3 separate regions of the Homo sapiens genome follow, and regions 2 and 3 are each linked to region 1. Evidence: promoter capture Hi-C in human tissues and cell types (Jung and others, 2019). All regions are on one chromosome and are shown on one strand. The core of a region is centred on a gene start or on the middle of the fragment in contact, and the rest is flanking DNA. Distances in the headings are between cores, read along the strand shown. Region 1 holds the start of EPPK1 (epiplakin 1). Region 2 holds the start of GRINA (glutamate ionotropic receptor NMDA type subunit associated protein 1). Region 3 overlaps IQANK1 (IQ motif and ankyrin repeat containing 1).

Region 1 (4,167 bases), core at 102-2,601:
TGCATGCCCCGCACCATGCGTGAGATGCGGCCTGTGGCTGGCTGCACCACTCCCTATCTCTTCCTGACCTTGGGCCTGGTATGAACCCCTCTGGGCCCTGCCCCTTCCCTGGGCCCTGCCCCTTCCCAGGCTTGGCAGGAGGAAGGCCCGGGAGTGGGTGTCTTGACTCCATGTGGGGCCTGGGAGGGCAGCTGGACAGAGGGTCCGGAGCGAGGGGGGGCAGGGGGTGCAGCTTCGAGTGTGGGGGCATCTGGAGGAGGTGGCTGCTGCCTAGGAGAGCACGGGGTCAGGGTTAGGGTGATGGGGTGGGGAGGAGGCCGAGCAGATTTCCCCGGAGCCTGAGGCACAAAGGGCCCCTCCTGTGGATTCCCCACTTCAGGTGGCCCCCAGGCCCCAAGTGGTGGAGGGCCGTTCCTGAGGAGGGTGGGTCTGCATCTCTTGGGTGAGGTCACTGTCTGTCACCAGACTGCCCGGCAGGCCCCCACCGCAGCCTGGGACAAAGGTTGGGGAGGCTGCAGCCGCCTGCCTGAGTCAGGTCAGGACAGACCCTGGCAGCTGCCTGGGCCCACACAGGAGGCAGCAGCCTTAGCTTCTGCCCGGCTGTGTGCCCTTGTGGGAAGACCCCACCCACCTGCAACCTGCACCATGATCAGAGATCAGTGGCCCCAATAACAAGCTTGGCACAGTGCAGCGGGGGCCCAGGGCAGGGAAGCAGAGCCCTGGGCCCAAGTGATGAACAGGGCCCTTCCTGCCTCTGCCTCCCACGGGTCTCCAGGCGACCGTGTGACCGCTTACCTGACCCGGAGTGGCCACCCCTGGGACCGCTCACCCAACAGCAGGCAGCTTCCCCGGATCCGTGACGCCTCCCTCCCGGCAATGTTGCCAGGAGTCACCCCTCTCAATTTGTCGGCCTAGCTGCCTCCTGGCCTGGGCGTTCCCCACCCTGCAGAGCGTGCCCCGGGCGGTCCTCGCTGCAGGGAAAACCGCTGGGCCTGCGAGACCCCCGCCCCTGGCCGCCTCTCCCGTGAGGGCTCGGGGCCGGCGCCTCCTCTTCACCGGCGCCCGGGACTCAGGGGCGCCACTTCGGACTCGGAGCTCAAATTGCCCAGGGCGGGAAACCTGCCCGGCCAGAGCCCAAGACCCCGCTGGCCGCCGCGCCCCTACCCTGGCCTCGGCGTGCGGCTCCAGCGGGGATCCGGTTTCCTTCGGCGGCCGCCGCCCCGCCCGGCCCCGAGCCCGCACCCGCACCCGCCGCACCTGCCCGCACCCGCCGCACCTGCCCGCACCCGCCGCACCCGCCGCACCCGCCGCACCCGCCGCACCTGCCCGCTCGCCGCTCGGTCCGCAGTGTCTCCGCGCGCCCGCTCCGCCCGCATTTCAAGCCCCACAGGCCCCGCCCCCGTCTAGGGCGGCGCCCAGGTCGGGGCCCCGACGCGGGGCGGGGCGGGGCGGGCAGGTGCCGGAAACCCCGCGCGGCCCGGGCCTGGCGCTTGCACCCCGGGCAAGGGGCGGCGGCTGGGCAGCCGGGACCCTCCCCTCGTCCCCAGCAGGGAGTCACCGCGAAGGAACGCAGGGCGGGCGCGGAGGCGTCCTGTGCCCTTCAGAACAGCTTTTTTTTTTTGGGAAAGGAGTTTGGAGTGAAACGCGGACCGGCCAGAGCGGCGGTTTCTATCCCCACAAGCCACTAATGCGGTGCGGGCTGGTGTCCCTGCCTCCAGCCCCGACCCCACCTTGTCTGCTCAGCTTCCTGGGGACGCTGCTTCACGTCGTGTGTCTGCTGGGTCCAGGGGTCTTCAAGGCTCTCCTTGGCAGGCCCCCCTGCCCCCATGACGTTGTAAGAGCTGGGATGTCCTGCCTGGAGCAGTGCCAGGCCTCACCCCCCGGTCTGGCTCCTCCACCTGGGCACAGAGAATGTTCCCTGTCACCCTGGGAGTACCTGGTCCCCTCTCTGAAGCCCATCCTGGCACCCACCTTCCAAGGCTGGGGCATGCCAGAGACACTGGGCATGGAGGCTCACAGCCTCGGGGGCTGGCCTGGGGGCAGCCTCAGCCTGGCACGGGAACCTTCCATGGATCTTCTGGAGGGCCCTCCCCTTGGCTGCCCCGATATCCCAGGTGGGCAGGGCCACGGAAGTACAGGGCCCAAAGCCCCTCCTCCTCTGTCCCCAAGGCCCCTCCTCCTCTGTCCCGTAGTCCTGGAGGTCCTGAGGGCTCAGGTGCTCCCCACCCCCACAAGTGCCCCCTTCTCCCAAGCTCCAGCCCCCACCTCTGCCTGAGTCATTCTTGACCAGAAAATCATCCAGAGCCAGCCAGCCACCTCCAATGCACACCATGAGGGTAATTGCAGGCGCCCACGCAGGTGCAGGAGGGACAGGTTAGGCCTTCAGGGGTTAGGGTGCTTGGGACCACTGCCCTGGCTCTGCTCTCACCCACCCACCAGGTCCACACTCACACCTGCTCACCCAGGCTGCCTGGACCCTGTCCACACCTGCCACACTGGCCGCACAGCATGGCTGCTGCCGACTGCGGGGCCCTGACCCCAGAGGAGCTCTGGTGGAACCCGCATTTCCCCAAGGCACTGCCAGGCCAACCGCATCCATCCCCAGCCCTGCTCACCGGATGCCTGGACACTGTCTGTGTGGTCTTGCTGGGAGGCATGGTGGTGCTGGCTATGGCCTGTGGCCTGGAGCACACCCCAGAGCCACTTCTTCCTGCGGTGAGCCATTGCAGGCAGCGCCCCTGCCAGGCCACAAAACCTGGGTGTATGCCAGCCCCTCGCTGCAAGAAGGGGGTGTTAGGCTGGCCAGACCAAGCCTTCTTGTGTGCCCAGGGACGGGCCACATGCCTGTCTGCTCCTCACCCCTCCGGTATAGGCAGGTGGCACAGAGCTGGCCCTGCTCCGCTGCACCCATTTCTGCCCGTCACCCCTCCAGTATAGGCAGGTGGCACGGAGCTGGCCCTGCTCCGCTGCACCCATTTCTGCCCGTCACCCCCCTGGTATAGGCAGGTGGCATGGAGCTGGCCCTGCTCTGCTGCACCCACTGGCATCTGTCCCCTGGCTCCTCTCCCTCGGCTTTGTCTTCCTGTGACTCCAGATCCCCTGCCCTGTGGTGGCCCCCAGCCCAGTGACCTCTGGGGACACCTCTGGGGGCAGACTTGGGTGCCTGCCCTACTCCCCAGGTCCCTGGGCCACTCCCAGTCAGGGCTTCTGGGAGCCACCACCTCCCCAGGGGCTCCAGTCCAGTGCTTCAGCCCAGCAGTCCCCGGAGCCACAGGCCACTCCTCCAGCCCCCAGGCCTGGGCCTATACCACCTACACAGCAAGGAAGGGCATCAGGGAGGGTGTCAGGAGGTGAGCGAGAGGGCTCCCATGCCCAGTACTGCCCACGGCTCTACCCACCTCCTCCTGGCACTGGCACCTAGCTTCCCCCTGCAGGTCAGGGAGGCTCTCAGAAGACCTGGTCCAAGGAGGGAGGTCCCAGAGCCCCAAGACCAGTGCCCACGCTGCCCCTGGGCTGCTCCATGGAGTCACCGTGCTGGTTGGAGCCTTTGGCCAGGATCCCCATTGGTCCCTTGGAGCCTGGCATGGCCCAGCTCGAAGGGGAGTGCCCGCCATTGCTCCATAAAGCATCTGGGAGCAGGGTGTCCCCTCCACGGCACATGGCCCAGAGAGGAGACAGGGCAGATGCAGGCAGGATGGAGGGCCCGGCGGGAGCGGGTGGGACAGAGCTGAGCAGCAGGCTGACCTCTCCACCAAGGGCCTGGACATAGCAGCCGGCAGCTCCAACCGCAGGCCCAGGTACAGGGGGCGGGCAGCCTTGGGGGTGAGCCTTCCTCTCAGGCTGGGTGCCCTCACAGCAAAGACATGGGCTGCTCTCCCAGTGGCTCTCAGGGGACACCTGCCATCAGGGGAGCCCAGTGATGCAGCTGCCTCCGGGGGCAGGGAAGGGCTGAGGTGGGGGTTGGAGCCCTGCTGCCTCTGTCCCCCACGGAACCACCCCCCACATCCCAAATTCTCTTTCTCCACACCCTCCTCGCTGTGCGTCTCACTGATCCCCCATCCCCAGTCAGCCAGGGTGATGACACGGGCTGGCCCAGCTTCTCCTGCCCAGGCCTCGGAAGCCGGCCGGCACGAGGAGCACAGCCTCTGCCTGCCAAAGGCCCCCATG
Region 2 (4,258 bases), core at 1,556-4,055, 110 kb after region 1:
CTCCGTTTGCTTCCAGCCTTTCAAAGAGCTGTGGCCACTACCACTCTCCATCTCCTACTTCCCACTCACCCCTCAGCCCACCAAAACCCAGCCCCACCCCTGCTGTTCCTCCCTCCAGGGAGCTGAGGACCCTGGCCAGCCTGCACTCCTAGCCCTGCACATGCCACACCTCTGCTGCCCCGACCCTGGTCCCAGCCTCCAGCATCTCTCGCTAGGTAGCTAGGCTAACCTCTTAACTAGTCTCTGTCTGCCACTCCCATGGTGGGTCCTCAACAGAGGTGTCAGGGTGAGCCTTGTAAAATGACACCAGCAGCTGCTACAGCTCCCAGCATCAGCAACAGTAGAAACCAAAGTCCTGGGGGCCGGGCGCAGTGGCTCATGCCTGTAATCCCAGCACTTTGGGAGACTGAGGCAGGTGGATCACGAGGTCAGGAGTTTGAGATCAGCCTGGCCAACATGGTAAAACCCTGTCTCTACTAAAAATATAAAAATTAGCCGGGCATGGTGGCAGGTGCCTATAATCTCAGCTACTCAGGAGGCTGAGTCAGGAGAATAGCTTGAACCTGGGAGGTGGAGGTTGCAGTGAGCTGAGATCGTGCCACTGCACTCCAACCAAGGTGATAGAGTGAGACTCTGTCTAAAAAAAAAACAAAAACCCAAAGTCCTTTTGAGGACCTGCCCCCTGCCCAGCTGCACCTGACCAGACCTCAGTCCCTTCTCTGGCCCCATGCCCCCTGCACACCCTGATGCTCAGAGGGCTCCAGGCTCTCAGCTCTTCCTGCAGAGCTACAGGCCACTCCTGCCTCAGTAGCCTGGGACTGGCCCTTCCCTCTGCTTGGCCCTACCTTCCCCACAAACCCCCATGGCCACCCCTCTGGCATGATCTCCCTTACTCTGCCTTTTTTTTTTTTTTTTCTGAGACGGAGTTTCGCCCTTTCACCCAGGCTGGAGTGAAGTGCCGTGATCTCGGCTCACTGCAACGTCCACCCACTGGGTTCAAGGGATTCTCCTGCCTAAGCCTCCCAAGTAGCTGGGATTACAGGCACGCACCACCATGCCCAGCTAATTTTTGTATTTTTAGCAGAGACAGGGTTTCACCCTATTGGGCAGACTGGTCTCAAACTCCTGACCTCAGATGATCCACCTGCCTCAGCCTCCCAAAGTGCTGGGATTACTGGTGCCAGCCACCATACCCAGCTATTTTATTTTTATTTACTTATTTATTTATTTTTTGAGACAGAGTCACACTCTGTTACGCAGGCTGGAGTGCGGTGGCACGATCTCAGCTCACTGTAACCTCTGCCTCCCAGGTTCAAGCCATTCTCCTGCCTCAGCCCCCCCAATAGCTGGGATTACAGGTGCACACCACCACGCCCAGCTAATTTTTTTTTGTATTTTTAGTAGAGACGGGGTTTCACCGTGTTAGCCAGGATGGTCTCCATCTCCTGACCTTGTGATCCACCCGCCTCGGCCTCCCAAAGTGCTGGGATTACAGGCGTAAGCCACCGCGCCCAGCAAGCATTTTATTTTTCTTAAAGGTCTCTCAAATTTTGTGAGCTTCTGCTTCTACAAAGGTAGAAGTTACCTTCTACAAGGGTAAATCCATCCCTGCTTTTTCCACGTTTTCTCTAATGGAACTCATCACAGGTTATCCATTACGCCGACCCTGGCTGCAGAGGGCCTGCCACAGGCACCACTCACACCACAAGCAGACTGGTACAGTTTCGGGAATTTCTGTGGACTGGTTGTCCAGCTGGGGGTAACTTGAAACCAGCCCCGGTGGAGTATTCACACCACGCGCATGTGCAAAACACGCACCCCAGGCTTCCCCTCACTAGGTCCGGCTGCTAAACACTGCGCCAGCGCACCATAGGTGCAGGACTCAGAGCGGCCTGGGAGAGGCCGGCCCTCCAAGGGCGGGAGGGCAGGTGGGGTCTGGGCCCCGGGTGGGAAGGCTGGCAGCAGGATGTACCCTGCCTGTGTCAGTCACTGCTCCCCCAAGAGGACTTGGGAGCTAAGCAGGGAGGTGGCCTGGCCTCCAGTCCTGCTGCATCCCCAAGCCTCAGCCCCTCGCAGCTTGTGAGGACGTTAGGCAGACAAGCGAGCGTTCAGGGTCTCTAGTGTGAAAACAAGACATCGTATTTGTTAGTACAAAGGGTGACTGTGGTCAAGAATAATTGTACATTTTAAAACAACTCCAAGAGTATAACTGGATTGTTTGTAACACGAAGGACAAAATGCCTGAGCTGATGGATACCCCATTTACCTTGATGTGATTATTATCCATGGCATGCCTGTATCAAAACATCCCATGTAGCCCGTAAATATACACCTACTATGTATCCACAAGAATTAAAAAAATAAAAAAGGGTCTCTAGTAGCAGGCCTGGCAGAGTTTGGGCTGACAGAGCAAATGGGGCAATTAAACCACGAGGCCTCGATTTGGGAACTAAAGGATTAGGCTTCTTGATTTGGGAGAGATCTGGATGAAAAGAAGTGAACGTCGGGTTTTAAGGCCGAGAACGGACGGTCAGTCCCGGGCAGCTTCAGCAAATCCCGCATTTAGGAATAAATTTCTTAACTACCGAACGGCCAGTCAAATTGGCCAGACCAGACTTCTGCCTCCAGGGGTCTTCAGCGCCCACCGCCCGACCCCACCCCTCGGCAGACAGTGAGAGGCGGGCCTCTGGCCGGAGCGAAGAGGAACACGCAAGGCGGCGCAGCGGGAGGGGTCCGCGGAAGCCCCGCCCACCTGCCCCTCCCACCCCGAAGCTCGCCCGGCCCCGCCCCCTGCCCCGCCCCGTCACAAGGCCCCGCTGCGTCTTCCGAGCCGCAGGCGCAGGCCCAGCTGAGCGGCCGCCGAGCGGGTGCGGGTGCGGGCGCATCGGCCATCACCGCGCGGCCGCGCAGCGGACACCGTGCGTACCGGCCTGCGGCGCCCGGCCACCGGTGAGTCCCCGGCCCGAGCCCAGGAGCGCCTCTGACCCGCTGCGCCGCGCGGCCTGCCGCCCCCGCCCCCGCCCCCACGCGGATCTTGCGCATCCGAGCGTGGCCGCCTCGGGTCAGTAAGTTGGTCCGGCCGGGGCGCGCGGCAGCTCGCGGCCAGAGGTGGCGGCGGTGGTGGGGGCGGGGAGCCGCGGCGGCCTGGAGCCGGAGGGAGGGGGCGGCGCGCTGCGGCGACTGCTGGACCCGTGACCCTGTGCGCCCCCGGCCCGCGGAGGGCCCATCCGCTCTCGGTGCCAGTGCCACGGCCGCAGCCCCTACCCGCCTCGCCCCACGCCCGCTTTGTTCCCCGCACGCCCCGTGGTCGCTTCCATCCCCCACACACCCCCGCACCCCGCTGTTCCCGGCGTACCCCACTGGCAGGCACCGGCAGCCGATCCAGGCCCGATCCCCCCACCCCGGAGCCAGGGGCCGTTGGGCCCTGTTGTTGGGCTCGCGGGGGTGGGGGGGCTCGGGCCTTTGTTGGTCACAGATGGCCCGGGGATTTCCTGGGATAGAAATAGCCGCCGGCTCCGGCCCCTTAAAGCTGCTTAAGGGGCGGGATGCGGAGGGGAGGGTCCGGGCACACCCCACACGTCCCCGGCCGAGACCCCAGCCTCCGCGCTGAGCTCCCACCCGGGAGACGCCGGCAGCGGCGCAGGCCTCCGGTTGCTTGTGAGAAACGACCCAAGCCCCAAATCCCGAGGCTGGCGGTCGTCCCCTCGCCCGGCCCCTCCCCCACCCTAAAGGCGGCCTAGAGCCCTGGGAAGGCCCCACGGCGCCGCCCGTCCGGTCCTCACGCGCTTCTCCGGGCCCAGGCTCCGGGGCTCCCCACAGCCCGGGGCAAAGGTCACGGTCTTCCCTTGCTTCCCCCTGGGTTCCCAGAAGCAGGTGGAGTTGCGCAGGGCTGGGTCCCGACGCTGTCGTCAAGCCAACTGTTCCACTGTTCCTTGTCTGTCTTCTCTAGGGGCGGACCGCGGAACCCGAGGCCATGTCCCATGAAAAGAGTTTTTTGGTGTCTGGGGACAACTATCCTCCCCCCAACCCTGGATATCCGGGGGGGCCCCAGCCACCCATGCCCCCCTATGCTCAGCCTCCCTACCCTGGGGCCCCTTACCCACAGCCCCCTTTCCAGCCCTCCCCCTACGGTCAGCCAGGGTACCCCCATGGCCCCAGCCCCTACCCCCAAGGGGGCTACCCACAGGGTCCCTACCCCCAAGGGGGCTACCCACAGGGCCCCTACCCACAAGAGGGCTACCCACAGGGCCCCTACCCC
Region 3 (4,298 bases), core at 660-3,159, 110 kb before region 1:
CACTTGGAACAGCAGCTGCAAGGGGAGTCACCTTCTGATTAAGCTGACAATGACCTAGGCATTCCCCAAAACCATCATTTTCTATTGAAATAAAACTGGAGAATGAAGTCTCAGACTGTGCAATTAGTCTACGCAATCCCCTAGTGATGCTGTGTTTTCTCTGACAGGCTGTTGTGGTAGGAAATTCATGACCCTCCCTCTTTTCTTTTTTTTTCTTTTCTCTTTTCTTTTCTTTCCTTTCCTTTCCTTTTGTTTTCCTTTTCCTTTTCCCTTTCTTTTCCTTTTCTTTTTCTTTTCTTAAAACTGAGTCTTGCTCTGTCACCCAGGCTGGAGTGCAGTGGTGCGATCTCAGCTCACTGCAACCTCTGCCTCCTGGTTCAGGAGATTCTCCTGCCTCAGCCCCCTGAGTAGCTGGGATTACAGGCGCCCGCCACCACGCCTGGCTAATTTTTGTATTTTTATTAGAGACGGGGTTTCACCATGTCAGCCAGGCTGGTCTCAAAGTCCTGACCTCATGATCTGCCCGCCTTGGCCTCCCAAAGTGCTGGGATTACAGGCGTGAGCCACCGTGCCCGGCCTGGCTTTTCTTATAATGATGGTAAGAATATGATAATGGTAGTTAACATCTGTTGAATGCTTATTGTGTGTGAGACCCTGCTCTAAGTATTTTATATTTATTAGCTGATATGGTTTGGTCCCCTCCAAATCTCGTATTGAAGTGTGATCCCCAATGTCAAAAGTGGGGCCTGGTGGGAGGTGTTTGGATCATGGGGGCGGGTCTCTCATGAATGGTTTGGTGCCCTCCTCACCATCATTAGTTCCACTCCGTGAGCTCACAAGCTCGCACGAGAGCTGGTTGGTTACACAGCCTGGCATCCATCTTGCTCTGCCACTTGCCATGGGGCACACCTGCTTCTCCTTTACCTTCTACCATGAGTAAAGGCTTCCTGAGGCCTCCCCAGAAGCAGAGCAGATGCAGGTGCCATGCTTGTGCAGCCTGCAGAACCGTGAGCCAAGTAAACCTCTTCTCTTTATAAATTACCCAGTCTCAGGTGTTCCTCTGTGGCAATGCAAAAACAGACTAACACATTAGCCAATTGATCCTCCAAACAGAAACAAAATCCACAAGCCCTAGGGGCAGGCAGAGTGGTTAACCCTCTTTTAACATATGAATACACTGGGGACTTAAGCTGGTAATTTTTTGTTATACGAGATATGATAATTCATTTCAACGGAGTCACAAAAAGTCCCTCAAGTTTTGATTTGGGAATTTAAAAATATGTAGCTGATCTGGGAATAGAAGGATGATTCTCCTTCAAGGACCATGCCTTGTTTAAAGTTCTACATTCCTCTGATACTCTCAGCAGTCACAGAACAGAGACAGGAAACATTGTGTGGAGGGCCCGCCGGAAGGACTCGGCGGCAGAGGATTCCACCTGCACAGGAAAGGTGGACAGCTGCTTGGTAGCAGAAAAAAAACGAACAAAACCTGACTCATACAACCTGTAAGCAACGCCCCCAAATCAAAGGAAAAAGCTGCAGATCACAAATCATCCAATATTCCAGTATCCCAGTATTCAGAAATAACAAACGTGCAGACCAGGCGCAGTGGCTCCTGCCTTAAACCCCAGCACTCTGGGAAGTTGAGGTGGGAGGATCACTTGAGCTCAGGAGTTTGAGACCAGCCTGGGCAACATGGTGAGACTCCGTCGCTACAAAAAAAAAAAAAAAAATTAGTGCCTGTAGTCCCAGCTCCTCAGGAGACTGAGGTGGGTGGATCACCTGAGCCTGGGGAGGTCAAGGCTGCAGTGAGCCGTGATGGCGTCACTGCACTCCAGCCTCAGTAACAAAGCAAGACCCTGTTTCTAAAAAAACCAAACAAAACAAAACTGAAAAAAGAAATAACAAACGTGCAAACATTTGATAAATAATCCAAATATTTCTCTCTCCATTTTTACAGGGGTAAATTTCCATAATTATGAAGAGGCAGAAAGAGATGGAGAGAGAGAATGTTATAACAGCAGAGATATTTTATACATTTCATTTTAAAAATAAAATGTTAAATTTAACAAATGAAAATTAGTGAACCTCAAGGAATTGCTGGATGCATAAAAATCTCTTAAAAATTGTGTACAAAAGAACATATGTAATATATATGTGCCTTAGGACAATAGAATGTAAGAGCTCACATGTCACCAACACTATTGCATCCCCACCTAACTCTGCTCCTCCCTGCAGATGAATCCACTCTTACAAATGTGTTCACCATTCCCTTACTTTTAAAATACAATTTTCAAAAAATAAAAAATAAAAATTTCAAGAATCATATATATAGCCGCGCCGGGTTTGTTGGCTCATGTCTGTAATCCCAGCACTTTGGGAGGCCAAGGCGGGCAGATCCCTTGAGGTCAGGAGTTCAAGACCAGCCTGGCCAACGTGGTAAAACCCCGTCTCTACCAAAAAATACAGAAGTTAGCCAGGCATGGTGGCGCACGCCTGTAATCCCCGCTACTTGGGAGGCTGAGGTGGGAGAATCACTTGAACCCTGGAGGCCGAGGTTGCAGTGAGCCAGGATCACACCACTGCACTCCAGCCTGGGAGACAGAGTAAGACCTTGTCTCAAAAAAAAAAAATCATATATTTATGATTATATATAATCCTCTCATCCTCACCCAATCTGAGAATGTCTATCTTTACATTTTGCAAAATTACTGGATATAAAATGAGCCTCCATGGTAATTTTAGTTTGCATTTCATGGAATGTGTTTTCAAAGGTTTATTAGCCAATCCATTTTCCTCTTCTGGGAAATGCCTGTTCATCTCTCTGCCCATTGCTCTATGGATTACTTACCTGTTTCTTTGACATATGCAGAAGTTCTTTAACAGGTTTATGTGTTGCAAATTTCTTTTCCAAATTTATATGGTTTTTCACTTTTGGTATGTTATTTTTAGATAAGCAGAAGTTTTACATTTTGACATGCTTTAGTCGTCTTTTCCTTTGTGGTATATAAAGTACATATTTTAAAAGTCATCCTTTGTTTTATGTAGCTGTGGTTCATGTTCATGGCTGTTTAGGTGTCTGTTATGTGCATATAACATTACTGATTCATTCTACTGCTGGTAGACATTTGGATTATTTGTAGATTTTGGTTTTAAAAATAACACTAGCATGGATTTTCTTGCACGTGTCTCCTGGTGCACACATCCATGCATTTTTGGGGGCACACACCTGGGAGAAAGGTTGCTAAGGCACAGGTGTGCCAAGCCGTCTGCTGACGTGGGTGTTCTGATTTCCCTCCCCACAGCAGTGTAGGGACCGGTGTTCTGCAAGCCTCCCGTGGGTAGTAGCAGCCTCTCTCTAGCCGGTGTGCGTGGTATTAGGTGAGGTTTTAGATTGGATTTCCCTGGTGACTAATGAGATTCATCACATTTCCATATATTTATTGGCCACCTGGGTAGGCTCTTGTGTGCATTCAGGTATGTTACTAGTTCTCTATTGTGCTGCTGCCTTTTTTCTTACGGCTTTGTAGTATTTCCCAATATATTCGGAATACAAACCTTTTGTCAGTTACATGGATTGCAAATACCTTCTCCCACTCACTGGCATTTTTACTTTCAATGGTGTCTTCTCGTGAATAGAACTAACTGATTTTTGCTGGGCATGGTGGCTCATGCCTGTAATCTCAGCACTTTGGGAGGCTGAGGTGGGTGGATCACCTGAGGTCAGGAGTTCAAGACCAGCCTGGCCAACATGGTGAAACCCCATCTCTACTAAAAATACAAAAATTAGCCAGGCGTGGTGGTGGGCACTTGTAATCCCAGCTACCTGGGAGGCTGAGGCAGGAGAATCGCTTGAACCCGGGAGGTGGAGGTTGCAGTGAGCCAGGATCGAGTCACTGCACTCCAGCCTACGTGACGGTGCGAGATTCTGTCTCACGAAAAAAAGAAAAAAAAAAGAACGTACTGATTTTAACATGTTTTCTTTTGGGTATTTTTTGTGGTGGTCTCTGAAATAAATCTTTCCAACTCCAAGTTCCTGAAGCTGTTCTCCCATGTGATCTTCAACGAGCTTTATGGTTTTGCCTTCCGGTGCGATCACCAGTCCATCTGGAATTGCCTGTTGTGAATGGGGTAAAGTAGCAGACACCTGTCCTCCCTCTCCTCATACGGGTTTCTGATTGGACCCCACCACTGACTGAAATCTCTATTCTTTCCCACGGCTCTGTAGGCCCCCTGGCCAGGAAGTGCCCATATGCCCGGGGGCTGTTTCTGAACCCACGGCCACTGGTCTCCGTGTG

The links. Contacts are between HindIII fragments. The study calls those that stand out against the background at their distance.
Region 2: a contact is called between the fragment with the promoter of GRINA here and the fragment with the promoter of EPPK1 in region 1, in 3 of the 25 tissues and cell types used here (liver, mesendoderm cells and thymus).
Region 3: a contact is called between a fragment that was not itself captured here and the fragment with the promoter of EPPK1 in region 1, in 4 of the 25 tissues and cell types used here (dorsolateral prefrontal cortex, mesenchymal stem cells, mesendoderm cells and 1 more).

What each region holds. Positions count from the first base shown.
Region 1 is chr8:143,877,116-143,881,282 of GRCh38, forward strand. It overlaps EPPK1 (epiplakin 1), which reads right to left and starts at 1,352. Exons shown (of 2, transcript NM_031308.4): 1 at 1,323-1,352. RefSeq lists a silencer at 1,406-1,495 and an enhancer at 2,062-2,704. The HindIII fragment of the contact is 27,880 bases long and covers 1-4,167 here.
Region 2 is chr8:143,987,251-143,991,508 of GRCh38, forward strand. GRINA (glutamate ionotropic receptor NMDA type subunit associated protein 1) reads left to right here and starts at 2,806. Exons shown (of 7, transcript NM_001009184.2): 1 at 2,806-2,949; 2 at 3,950-4,258. The coding sequence starts at 3,974. It also overlaps a transcript of PARP10 not described here. RefSeq lists silencers at 2,738-3,237, 3,258-3,397, 3,528-3,787, 3,711-4,005, 3,838-3,887. The HindIII fragment of the contact is 16,067 bases long and covers 1-4,258 here.
Region 3 is chr8:143,762,736-143,767,033 of GRCh38, forward strand. The region is part of intron 3 of IQANK1 (IQ motif and ankyrin repeat containing 1); the gene reads left to right. Among named protein-coding and RNA genes, the nearest start is that of IQANK1, 31 kb to the left of the region's middle. The HindIII fragment of the contact is 9,724 bases long and covers 1-4,298 here.